Regions from separate parts of the Homo sapiens genome. Here region 1 is linked to region 2. Evidence: promoter capture Hi-C in 16 types of primary human blood cells and fetal thymus (Javierre and others, 2016). All regions are on one chromosome and are shown on one strand. The core of a region is centred on a gene start or on the middle of the fragment in contact, and the rest is flanking DNA. Distances in the headings are between cores, read along the strand shown.

Region 1 (7,094 bases), core at 1,639-4,138, 270 kb after region 2:
CTTTTTACATTTAAATCACATGTCATTAATGCTTTCAGTCATAGGTGAAGTAGCATTTTTTTTTTTTGAGACGGAGTCTCACTCTGTTGCCCAGGCTGGAGTGCAGTGGCACCATCTCACCTCACTGCAAGCTCCACCTCTTGGGTTCACCCCATTCTCCTGCCCCAGCCTCCCGAGTAGCTGGGACTGCAGGCGCCAGCCACCACACCTGGCTAATTTTTTGTACTTTTAGTAGAGACAGGGTTTCACCGTGTTAGCCAGGATGGACTCGATCTCCTGACCTCGTGATCCGCCTGCCTCAGCCTCCCAAAGTGCTGGGATTACATGCGTGAGCCACTGCGCCCGGCAGCTTATTCTTTAACAATAGCAAAAGAGTTGGCCTCCTGATATTCTTAGCTCATGCTTCTCAAACTGGAGTGTACGTATCAACGTGTGTGTTTGCAGCCAGCTCATGGGAAATACGAGGTACATCTCTCAAGAGTATCCACATTTATGTGAAGATTTCAAGGAAATTACGTGAAATCAAATCTGAATATTTATTACAAGGCAGAAGGAAAAATGAATAAGATGAAAGAGGAGAAATCCAAGAAATGTTGGGTTTACAGCAGTAAGTTGGAAGACTAGCCTGAGACTGAGGGACTCTGGGTTTGTGTTCATGACCCCCTGCCATTTTAAACCACTTTGGTTGAAAAGTCTAGCGGGATGTGGTGGCTCAGGCCAGGTGCAGTGGCTCAAGCCTGTAATCCCAGCACTTTGGGATACTGAGGTGGGCAGATCACCTGAGGTCAGGAGTTCAAGGCCAGCCTGGCCAACATGGTGAAACCCTGTCTCTACTAAAAATACAAAAATTAGCTGGACATGGTGGTACATGCCTATAATCCCAGCTACTCAGGAGGCTGAGACAGGAGAATTGCTTAAGCCTGGAAGGTAGAGGTTGTAGTGAGGAGAGCATGCCACTGCACTCCAGCCTGGGTGACAGAGTGAGACTCTGTCTCAAAAAAAAAAACAAAAGAAAGAAAGAAAAAAAGAGTCTAAGAAGCAATTAAAAAAAATTCAAGTGCCATTTGTATAAAGTTTCACAAGACTTTTTATGTTGTTTTCCTCAGAAATATTTATAATTTTTAGCACTTTTGTAATTTGAGGGAACGACTAGAATTAAATGGTGAAAATAGAAAAGGAGCTTCTGATGTGAGTGCCATAAGCAATGTATTTTACAAAGTGTGTGAAGAGAAATGAAAAACAAACTTCTTTATTTGAGAGAAAGAAAGGAAGGAAAGAAAGAAAGAGAAAGGAAGAAAGGAAGGAAGGAAAGAAAGAAAGAAAAGAAAAGGAGGGAGGGAGGAAGGAAGGGAGGGAGGGATGGGGAGGGAGAGAGAGAGAGAGGGAAGGGAGGGAGGAAGGAAGGAAGGAAGGAACGAAGGAAACAGAAAATAATTTACTCTTCCCATATTTAGCTTAGTCATCTCTTAGGGACCACCGTGTTCTCTGAACCATCTCTGTGGGCACAACATTATCTCAGGCACTGTGGGCAGCTTCCAGGGAAAAGAGGAGACATGCTTTTAACCCATTAGCAGCTTCCAAGAAAATGATGCAGATGAAATGAACATAATCTATAATGCCTGGAAACACAAACAAACACATATGTATATAGCAGCTGAGGATTGCTTTGTTTTGGTAATATGATTACATATGTGTAAGAAAGAAATTATAGGGTCTAGGTCTATTCATTTGGTGCTTCAGTCCCCCATAGATGTAACACACACCAATTCAAATAGGTAGGCTTATGCATGCCCCCTGTATATAAAGCGTCTGTCTATCTTCACGTAATAAAGCAAATATAGACAAAGGCATTCTCTAAACCAAAGGAGTTTGGGCTGTTTGGAGATCCTGTTATTAGGTCACAGGAATAATTCAGGTTAAATTTTCACAGTCCCTCTATAAGTGAACCATTGAATACATAAAGCATTGAACACACAAGGGCTGTTGGCTTTGATGGTTGGCAAAGTCCACACACCCAGCTCTACCTTTCTTTGCACCACCCTACCCTGCTACATTTTCAAATCCACAGGCAATGTTGAGTGAAAGCTTACTCAACACTGCAGGCACCCCAGGAGTTATCCTGGTGAAATACATAAATGTTCTGTCCTTTCAGATACAGCAAGACTCTTTCAGATTTTAGTGGCTAAAATATAAAGTTTGTAGCCAGTCTTGGGGAAACCTCAACTTCAAACATGAGACAAAATTCAATTCAAGAATCTAGCTTTGCCAAGTTTCTCACTCTATCTGTTTGACATCTTGGTCTTGTCCTTCATCAGGCTTTACTTAAAAAGTAAAACTGAATAAAAATTGATTTCACAATCAACAAAACTTAGCCACTCTCCTGATGTGTTACTTAGCTTAAAAACAATTCTAATTCAGTTCTATAATATAATTATATAACTTAATTAGGTAATTCTACTTTTCAGGCAAAAGTATAACCTAATAAAATCTTCTCAAATTTTATACTCAACAAATCCATGAAGCACAAAAAGGGCCAAACATTTTCTATTACAAAAAAAAGAATAGTTTTTTAAGAATCCATTGAAGACTCCACAATTATACTTTTACATAAATTGACTAAAAATTTTTCCCCAAATCAGAAAGTCGAAATCCAAGAAACTATCAACAAATATACTTTAAAAGGAACAAATAAGTTACTATGCAAAAGAAGCAGAGACTATGTTCAAGAGAAGCATAAATATTCAAATATTTATTTTTTCAGATTTTGTTGGTCTGAATAGCTACTGAGTTTTATACTAATGTCTTTAAATCTGTTACTATGCATAACATTCTACTTGTGGCATGTTTTAAGACACTCTTTGGTCATGTTTTTGCACATTTATAAAATAACAAATTCAGTGTTATTACTCAACAAACTCATAACATAACTGATCTTGTAAAAACGTCATCACTGATGGGAAAGATCCATGCCTACGTTATGACTAAGGGAAGCAGCCCAGTAGCCTCCGGGAGCAAGCAGCTATATGCATCATCGGGTGCATTTGCAAGGTTGGAATTCAGAGCTTTTGCAACAGGCTTCATCCAGGAGGCAGGAAAATAGCATGGGTGTGACTTGGGAAAAGAGCTCCAAGTTAACTGTGGGAAGCCATGGGAAGCCGTGGGAAGGCCACTTGGTTCCCATCTTCTCCCTCTTTCCTGCACTATATCTAAACAAACCTTTTGACAACCGGTAAACTGGGAATTTTGACTGTAGGATCCACAGTTCTAAGATATTTAAAATCTTCCCCTTTTGCAAGGGAAATTATTCAGCTCTGAAAAATTTAGTAGGCTGTTTGGGGGCTGGGTTCCTAGGGAACTTAACTGTTTTAAATAATGCTCTTTGACCTCTAAGGAACAGAGACCCACTTTACTTCAGGGCAGGGCTTGGGTGTTACCTGAAAATATCCACACAGACCAGAATGGATCAGAAGGTCATAAGGCCCTAGATGTTCCCCAGTTTTAGGCCCTGGTCTCTCTCCTTTGATCTCTTTCATGTCCCCTGTCTCATGACCTCTCTGACTCAGTATCTCTCGGTGACATCACTTTCTTCTTCTTTTTTTTTTTTAACCTTTTATTTTAGGTGCAGGTTTGTTACGTAGACAAACTGTGTGTCTCGGGGGTTTGGTGTACAGATTATTTCGTCACCCAGGTAATAAGCTTAGTACCCGGCAGGTAGTTTTTGATCCTCGCCTTCCTCCCACCCTCCACCCTCAAGTAGGCCCCGGTGTTTGTTGTTCCCTTCTTTGTGAAAGACATTCTTTTCTGACCAGCTTTTTCTCTCTTTTCTATGCCACGTCATAACTTCATCTTGCACGTGGCTTTGGCTTACGTGAGCCTGTGGCAATTTGACAGCTCCAATAAAATTACTTCCTGGCAATTCATTCCTTGTTGTTGAGTCCAAATTGCCAAAGGAAAGACTCTGGTTGGCCCAGCTCATCTTTGTGTGCCAGCTCCTGAGTATGTGATGGCAAACCTATGTGCTGGCTGTCTTGAGGTCAGGCTTCTGAAATCTCTGTGCGTGTGTGGGGTGCAGCTCATGAGTTTACAGAGCAAAGACTACAGATGGAGCACACTCCCCAGAAAGGCCTGTGGCCGGGCCGAAAGTGGCCAGTATCTCTAGGAAACTTTATTTTTAATATGCTCTTGGCTCTTTATTAAAATATTCAGCTTTTCATTCAACACATTTTTATCAAGCAATCTCAATGAGTCAGATACAGGGGAGACATCAAAATTTGAGGGGCAGGCTGGGCACGATGGCTCATGCCTGTAATCCCAACAGTTTAGGAGGCTGAAGCAGGCTGATCACTTGAGGTCAGGAGTTCGAGACCAGACTGACCAACATGGTGAAACCCCGTCTCTACTAAAAATACAAAAATTAGCTGGGCATGGTGGCAGGCACCTGTAACCCCAGCTGCTCAGAGACGGAGGTAGGAAAATCGCTTGAACCCAGGAGGCAGAGGTTGCAGTGAGCCGAGACCACGCCACTGCACTCCAGCCTGGGCAGTCAGCCTAAGCAAGACTCCATCTCAAAAACAAACAAACAAACAAACAAACAAACAAACCAAAAAACAAATCGAGGGGCAAATGTGGCTTCTTAGAACAATTTCCCCGGTGACTCCCTGAGATGCAAGTCTTATCCCCCAACAGACTTGTGAAGGGTCAGGCATTTAACCCTCATCATTTGCAGGATGTTTTTGCTTGACAACGCTATGAAATTTATTTATTCTGTCAGAATGGAGGAAAGATGTTTTTAAATACATAATCTCCACCTCTACGTAAAAATCTGGCTTGTATCTTCACAGCACAAAATTCAACATTGGACACCCCCTCAATAGTTTTGGAGGATCTATATCACTTCAATTTCTGAAATGATTTAAATATGAACATATATTTATATATAAATAGAATCACACTAAGATATACATAAAAGCAAATACAGGTGCCAAGGCAGGAAAGGCGGAGGCAGATGGTGTATGGAGAGGAGAAAAGGGGATCCATGTGAAGAGTGATGCTTTCTTATTTAATAAATTCTGAGAGTCCCAGGTTAAAGTCTTGCCATGTTTGTTTGCTTGTTGCTTATTTATTTGGTTGCCATGTTTGTTTTGACTCTTTTTACTCTTGGCAGATACTCAAGCAGTGAAAGATCTGCTTAAGCAGCCCAAAAGCTGCATAAATGCTTTAAATACACCTGATAAATGCTAGCTACACCTGGATTTTTTACTGAAGCAGTGAAAAAGATCTTTCGCTGCCTCAACCAGGTGACCAAGGTCAACATCCACAGCGTAAGTCATGTTCATGGTGTGCAGCCTTGATAAATGGGGTAGCAACAACCCTTCACTTTGTGGTCTACCCTCCAAAGACCCAAAACCCCAGTCTAAACATGAGAAATACATCAGATAAATCCCTGCCGAGGATCATTCTAAAACACACCTGACCAATGCTCCTCAAAACAGCCAAGGTTATCAAAAGCAAGAAAAGTCTGAGAAACTCACAGCCATGAGGGCCCAAGGAGACACAACGACTAAATGTTAAGTATGGAATCTTAGATGCGATTCTGGAGCAGAGAAAGGACATTGGTAAACTTTAAAGATATATGAATACAATATGGGCTTTAGTTAATAATAATTTAACAATATTGGTTCATTAATTTTAACAAAAATACCCCATTAAGATCAGATGTTAATACTAGGGAGCTTGGGTATGAGGTATATAGGAACTGTCCATACTATTGTTCTAATTTTTCTGTAAATCAAAAACTATACAAAAAAGAAATTTATTTAAATAATTAATACACTAGTACTACTTAGAAAAAGGAAAGAAAGGTTTTTATGTAAATTTTAATAGGGTAGTGCTGATGTTATGCTTGAACTTCAGAGATTCTCTTGTAAATTCTCTAGAGTTATGCTACCTTATACATTCTTATTGCTCACAGATTCTGGATATTTAAAAAAGAGAGAGAAATGGGGAGTGGATATTCCTTAGGGAATAAGAGGCCTTAAAATTGAATTTAGTGGCAAGATCAAATCTTTAAGACTAGGCTTCACTTTTTAAAATAGTGCAATAATTTTTATTATGCAATAACAAATGTTGTAAATATATGAAAAGGGAAAAAAAACCCAGTGCCCCTATATAGCATATCATCTATTTTCTTTTTTTATTCCATATTTCTTCCCACTCACTGCAATTATAATACTGATGAAATTGAGCATTCAGATTTTTACACTAAAATTTTATTGTAACATTTTTCTAGGTTATTTCGTATCTTAAAATTTTCACTTTAAAGTTCTGGATAATAGTCCACTGAGTGGTTATACCATAATTTAGCTGAACAATTCCCTACTGCTATTTTAAATAACCATTTCTACCACAGAAGAATCAAACTCTCCCCTACCCTTCCTGTGTCCCCAACTGAGAGCTGAGATGTGACTATGGTACATTTATTCCTTGGAAAAACATGCAGTGTCTGAACTCTTGACCTGTACTGTACCTCCTGCCAGGGTCCCGGGAGGAGGTGTGCAGCTTTGAGGCTGCTCAGCAGTTTTTGGGCTGAAGAGTTTCTGCTCTGCCATTCTGGAGCTAGACCAGGCTTTGCCTTTCCCTTCCTAGGTTGTACAATGCTTCCCTCTAAAATCAAAGTTATCTGGCCTTAGGCATTTAAAATACATCCCCCTGCTCAAAAAAGAGAAGATGAAGTTTGCTGTTCTTAATTTTAGGCACTGCATGTCTTAAAAGTGAAATCTTTTCATAGACAAGCACTCAACAAAGGGAATAATAACAGGTGAGGGAGGCAGAGCTGATCATCAATCATAAAGCTGCAGTGTCTGGAAAAGTGGAGGTCATGCATTATTTGTAAGATGTCATCACATTACGATCATCTCTGAAGCCTGTCAACTCCAGAGAAATAAATGCTAGCTGCACCTGGCCTTTACTCCTTGTGTGTACGTGTGTTTAAATCACAAGTGACTAAATGAGATTTGTTTTTCTTCTTAACGTCACTGCAGAAGTACAAGCTCAAGTTTGGTCTTGCCACAGTCAAAGAAAAGGAAGTGGATTTA
Region 2 (6,772 bases), core at 1,682-4,181:
ATACAGAATTTGTGGAATAAACCAAAGTAGACAAAAATCAAAGAATTTATCCCTGGGGCATTCAATGACTTGATACAAGGTCACCTTCTACTTAGTTAACTGTCCTTGAGGAGTAAGGAGAGCGCAGGGGCAGGAGAGATGTCTGATCCTGTCTCCAGCAACTGATAGACCCAGGTTAGAAGTTAGATGAAGCTGCCTGCCAGTTATCTTGGTAGAAACTTCTTTCTGCATGTACTCAGATAAGACATCAGTACCCTGGGTGGTTCTCTGCAAAATTCAAGGTCTGCAGAGTCACCAACTGAAGTCTATTGGTAAACTTGCTTTTAAGCAAAACAAAACCAAATGGCAAATTAGTATTTCTATTAGTACATTTTGATAACAAAGAAAATAAAAGACAATTTAAAATTTATGTAACTTAAATCTACATTGCTTAAGAACATCTGACTGAGGAGTTTTAGAATATCCCCAATACCATGAAATAAATACAGTAATTAAAAGGCAATAGAGTTTAAATACTGGATAATGGGCTATGGCATTTTTAAAATTAGCAAAACATTTGTTTATTATTGAAAATTAGGGCTGGGCCTGGTGGTGGACATCTGTAATCCCAGCAATTTGGGAGGCTGAGGCAGGAGGACCACTTGAGCCCAAAAGGTCAAGACCACCCTGGGCAATATAGCAAGACCCCGTCTCTAAAAAAAAGAAAAAGAAAGAAAGAAAATTAATTTTCATAAAGGGCTCTTCCCTTGGAAAGAAATATTTTAGCTACAGAGAAAAACTAAGAAGCCTTGTGGAGCTCTGTGAAGTTGCACTGACTTGCTTTCACTTAGCTTGCAGCTCACTAGTGAGATTTCACATGGTACTCCCACTCCAAGAGCAGGGGCCAGGACAGGTTGGTTTCATTTTGGTTTGAATGCATATGCTTTGGCCCACAGACTTGGAGAAAGATTTTGCTTTACTGATGAGAACTCAGTCAAGGGTGCTTGGGAGCCTTCGCTGGCCCTCTAGCTGGGCCTGACATGTTGCCTGCATTTCTAGCCTTGCCTTCCCAGCTTGCCCATTTGGTGCAGGGAGATAGTCCAGCCCACCCTGAAATTCACTGTGTTCTGCGGATGAGTTAACTGAAGGGCTGTGTTTCAGGAGTGGCACAGAAAGGACCTGAATGAAAGGAAGGAGGAATGAATGGAGAGAACCATTTTGGTGGAATTGCCCTAGGGTATTAAATAGGATGGGGCAACTGGGGACTGGAGGATGTTCCTTCTCTTACGTTGCTTAGGAAACACTGTCCTTAAGAGTGTCAGTGTCATTCCTTTAACAATCATTCATTTCTTACCTCCCGCTTGTGTATAAATTTGCAGATTTACACAGACCACCAGTGTGGCCATCCCAGTGAACTGAGTTTATTGTGAAATATACATGCAAAAAAATCCTTTTTTCTCACCTACAACCAATGCAACATTATTCATACTTTGAGTTGAAGAATAAGGAGTTTAAGAAATAAATGCATACAGCAACATAACCCTGAATTATCACTCAAATACAGACCTCCCACTGCTCTCTCCCAAAAAAAAAAAAAAAAAAAAAAAAAAAAAGGCAGTTATTCTAAGCAAAAGCAAAAATTGAGGCAACTTAAAATAGACAATTTTAAATGCTGGATTCCATCATTTCTGTAAAAGGTCATTCTACTCCTTTGCTATTTATACCACAGATAGAGACACAGCAAATTATTGGCTGAATGGATTTGGGAAACCAGAAGCTGCTGCTTCTGACGAACGAAGATGATAATGCATCACTTGAGACTGAGTGGATGAAAGGTGTAGAAAAGTTGAACCCTTCAAAGATGAGAGGAAGCTGCTAAATTAGCCCCTGACTAAATTACTAGCCATAATTGTACTCAAGCCAGTTCTCTTTGCGACTGCCTTGTAATCTTTGTTGTGGCTTGAGAGAGAAAAATCCCCATTCCCAGCTCAAACCCGTTTAAGGCATCTCAGCCCAACCCCCTCCTCCCAATGCAACTCTTCATAGCCCCCTGCCCCTCCTCCAACAAATTCTAATCAAGTCAGGTATAGTTCTCAGCTTTACCACTGCCATCAGAAGCACGGCTTACATTAAGGGTTTAGCAACAAAACCTCAGGCTTACTTCAGGCAAACATTCAAAAGCATTTAAGAGAAGCACAGAAAACAAAAGAAATAAGCAAAACCTGTCCTTACCCGCTTCTTAAAAAATTGGAAGGCTGAGCATTTCTTGACTGGGAATCCATTCATGTCTTTGTTTACCATTTTCCACCGTGGGGAATTCACAGTTATAGATCCAGGTTGGCACCCGCCTGGTTAGTGCATATCTGTTTCCCCGGTTTACCTCCTGCAGACAGTTAATGAAGACTGAGCGGGATGGAGAATCTAGCGGGGCTCAGTTCTTCACTCGCGCATTCTGCAGCACCAGCTACTGCAGCAACCTCTCCCCACTTTCAGTTGCCACCGACAGCGGCTTTTCTCCTTCCATCATTGCTCCGAAACATATGCATCACCGCTGCAGGACCCTGGGGGCCGGACGGTGGGATACGGCCAATCTCCGGGGAGATGCTGTGGCTCTTACCGAGCGGGAGAAGGGTACGCCTCCCCGCCCCCAGCTACCTGGCTGCTCTTCCGCGGCCGGCGCGGGGAGCGAGTCGCTCTTCTCCAGGTGATGCGCTCCTGGAGGCGGCTTGAGAGAGGAGAGTTGTTTTTGATTGTGCAAGTTCCAGTGGGAGCTGTAGTTAAGCAGCTGAGAGAAGGAGTAAGAAAGAGCAGAAGCCAGAGGGAGGGAGGGAGAACAGCGCCAGAAAGGCAGAGGGAGCGAGAAGGCGAGGCTGGAAGAAGCAACGGTTCATGAATATCTGAGCAGCGGATGGAGAGAAGGCACAGCCGGCTCAGGGCACACTGAAGAGCAGTTGACTCCCCTTGGGAGGGTTACTTTAAATAGCTTCTTTTCTTTCTTTCTTTTTTTTTTTTTTTGGTTAGGACCATTTAAATCAGAGTTTCATATAAATTGCACACCGTTTTTATTTTATGCTCATTGACATTCTTTTGAATCCTGTTGCTGAATAAAAGCCTCTCAACGGAAATGTAATCACATTTAATCTCGACCTGTCCAAACGTGGAAGAAAATGAAATAAAGTGCAAGCGTAGGTATAACAATGGAAGATCTCTCACTATGTAGAAGCTCTTTTAGCCTCCCCTCCCCTACTTGTCATTATATAGTGGGCAATGGTGACGGTAATTGTGTCTTTTTCATTAAAACAGCTTATTAAAAAAAGAACACAATGAACATATACAAAGTACTTTATTACACACATACACACACACACGAGTTATTACCAAAAAGTACTACTGAATCCATTTAATGATGAGGAAGGTTTGATAAATAAAAGAGTAAAGCATTCTTCCTATTAGGTGAAAAATTTCCCAAAAAATCCTTACTCATGTTATCCTTTGCACACTGAGCTCCTTTTAAAAAAGCCATTTAATTGTATGTGGCTTATTTTTCCATTTTTATTCTTTAATGTTGATATTTTATGGGAATGATTTTAAAGATTAGTTGATAGTAAAGCAAGAAAGCAAAGAAAATAAACTTGGCATCTGACCTGGCAGAAAGCCACCAACATCGGTGTGTGGCTTTCTGCCATCACCTGACCTCACTGTGCCTTTCGGACACTGCCTCATCCATAAAATGGAGGCAGCCACTCATTCATTCATTCACTCATTCATTTATTTAGTCATTCATTATTTGCTATTTCATTCCATTAATAAATCTAACTCTGACAAGTGTCCTCAGGATGTGGAGCCTTTTCATAATCATCACAAGGGAATATAATTGATAAATAAGTGAAAGGCGCAATGCTAATTTGAAACTGATTATGACCTCATTATATATAACACACCTAACATTGTTAAAGTATTTACATGGAAGTCTCTGGTAAGAAGAGAAACATCAGGTTAAACTGGGAAAGAAATGCATGGGTTTCATTGAATTGGACTATAAATCTCTACAGTTGGGCCAGAGTTTTTGGGAATAAACATGAAATCCTGTTTGCTAAATGCCTTGAGGTTTCCAAAAAGAAAATGCAATACAACTAAATGATGGCATGATAACCAAGGGAAAACAACTATTCATTTTGGAGAGATATGTTAAGTTGTCCAAGATGCAAGTATATGTTATGTAATCTACAACATTGATAAGTTTTTGTGGTTCTTCTAAAGAGTTCATTTAAAATTATGGTAGTTCAAAGGGAATTATTTTGAGACGATGGAAGTGTTCTCTATCATGATGATGGTGGTGGTTACATAACTATGCATTTGTCAGAACTCATCAAATTTTATATAGGAAAAGGGAAACTTTTGCTGCATGTAAATTATACCTCAATGGACCTCATTTTAAAAAATGATGGTCATTCAAGTTCTTTCTTTTTCGTCCCATTGCCACTCCCCCAAAAGTGTTTTAACAGACATTTATTGAATTTGAGTAATATACAGGAGGGGACCTTTAAGCACTCTGCTAGGAAGGAGGTGCTGGGGCTTTGCTTAATCCCACATTGGCCTAGCATGCATACTGGTTGATATCATTTGGCTGTGTCCCCACCCAAATCTCGTCTTGAATTGTAGTTCCCACAGTGAGTGATTTCTCATGAGATCTGATGGTTTTATAAGGGGCTTTTCTCCCTTTTGCTCAGCACTTCCCCTTCCTGATGCCATGTGAAGAAGAATGTGTTTGCTTCCCCTTCTGCTCTGATTGTAAGTTTCCTGAGGCCTCCCCAGCCATGCTGAACTGTGAGTCAATTAAACCTCTTTCCTGTATAAATTACCCATCTCACTATGTCTTTATTAGCAGTGTGAGAACGGACTAATACCCTGGTTTCATGTAGGATGTATGTTCATTTGGGGTGCAGGCGGGTGGTTAATAGAGATTATGAGGGAGGAGAAGACAAGCTAAATGCTATCTTTTCCCTCACTCCATGCCACCTCTTGAAGATGCTGCCACTGTCACTTGGTCTATGCTAGATCCTATGGAAGGTCCAGTGCATGTAAGTGTCACTGGTTTTTGTCACCAAGGAACTCACAGCCTAGTAGAGAAATATACAGTGTGGTAAGAATACTATATACAGTAGTCCTCCCTTATCTGAGGTTTTACCTTCCACAGTTTCAGTTACCTAAGGTCAACAATGGTCTGAAAATCAGTGAGTACAATACGATACTTTTAGAGACACAGAGAGAGACCACAGTCACATCATTTTTATTATCGTACATTGTTAAAATTATTCTACTATTGTTGTTAATCTCTTACTGTGCTTGATTTATAAATTAAACTTTATTATAGGTATGTATGTACAGGAAAAAACATAATGTATATGGAGTTTGGTACTATCTGAAGTTTCACGCATCCATGGGGGGGGTCTTGGAATGTATCCCCCATGGATAAGAGTGTACTACTCTGTGTGTGTGTGTGTGTGTGTGTGTGTGTGTGTGTGTGTGGTGTGTATGCATCAACCCTGCCTTAATTTGGAGGGGGGAAGGGTGGGGCTGGATGGGTAAGAGAGGTCCAGGAAATTTACCTAAAGGGATGATGTTAGTGCATGGCCTTAAAGAATGAGTAGGTCAGTCAGATGAAGGAAGAGAAGTATAGGGCAGGGATTCTGACTATATCTGACAGCCAATTATTTTGGATTATCTTTTGATTGGTGCAATAATAGAGAAATGCATTAACTGCACTGTGTTGGTTATTCAGGAAAAGAAGGCATCTTTCATCTCACTCTGACCTCTATTTTCATAAGTAAAGCTGCCCTCAGGTAAGCCCAGAGTGACTACTGTTTACTAAATGTTTCCTTTGACAGGTCCACTGTTGATACCTATAAAGGAGCACAGGCTCCTGCTTATAATAATAAAAAAAAAAACTCTGGACTCATGCAACATCTTGTTTATAAATCAAACTTAATTTAATTAATTAACTCACTTCTTGTTCCCATAAAACACACTTATTTATTTTTGTAGCACCAGCACACAGCGGAGTGCCTGGGCCATGCTAGCACTCAACAAATGGTTTTCAAACGAATTAAATACAAAAGTAAGTATAGCTGACATCAGTGACCCTGGCACCAGACCATTTGCAGGAATCATTAAATACCTTTAAGATTCTTCAGTCATTAAGCTCTCTCCCATGATAGCCAATATGCTGAGCTCCAGTAAGAGCAAACGACCTCACTCCTCACCATTTCCTCTTTAAGCCTCAATGACACTGTAGCCCTGGGATGACACTTCTTTTTGATGGAAAATCCCAATGTTAAAAATAATCCCTTGGGCCAGGCACAGTGGCTCATGCCTATAATGCCAACAATTTGGGAGGCCGAGGTAGGAGGATAACTTGAGCCCAGGAGTTTGAGACCAGCCTGGCAACATAGCAAAGCCCCATTTCTACAAAAAGGAAAAAAAATAGGTGGTGTGGTGATGCATGCCTGTGGTCCAGCTGTTTAGGAGGCTTAGGTGGAAGGATTGCTTGACCCTGGGAAGTTGAGGCTGCAGTGAGACATGGTTGTTCCACTGCACTTTAGCCTGGGCAACAGAGCAAGACTCTCTCAAAATAAATAAATAAATAAACAAACAAACAAAAAGAATCCCTTGAACCTCTATTTGATTTTTTTGTGGTATACCTACTTTTCCTCCCAACAATATTGTTTAGGCTGTCACACAAAGAATAAAATAAAGTAGCTAGGTAGGACTAACTACCAATATGTACCTGCGG

The links. Contacts are between HindIII fragments. The CHiCAGO score rates a contact against its expected background, and 5 or more counts as called.
Region 1: a contact is called between a fragment that was not itself captured here and the fragment with the promoter of SGK1 in region 2, in 1 of 17 cell types (neutrophils). The highest score is 8.7, in neutrophils.

Annotation. Positions count from the first base shown.
Region 1 is chr6:134,586,696-134,593,789 of GRCh38, forward strand. No RefSeq gene overlaps it. Among named protein-coding and RNA genes, the nearest start is that of LINC03002, 50 kb to the left of the region's middle. The HindIII fragment of the contact is 1,611 bases long and covers 2,084-3,694 here.
Region 2 is chr6:134,315,181-134,321,952 of GRCh38, forward strand. It overlaps SGK1 (serum/glucocorticoid regulated kinase 1), which reads right to left and starts at 2,932. Exons shown (of 14, transcript NM_001143676.3): 1 at 2,212-2,932. The coding sequence starts at 2,280. RefSeq lists an enhancer at 2,480-2,759. The HindIII fragment of the contact is 10,717 bases long and covers 1-6,772 here.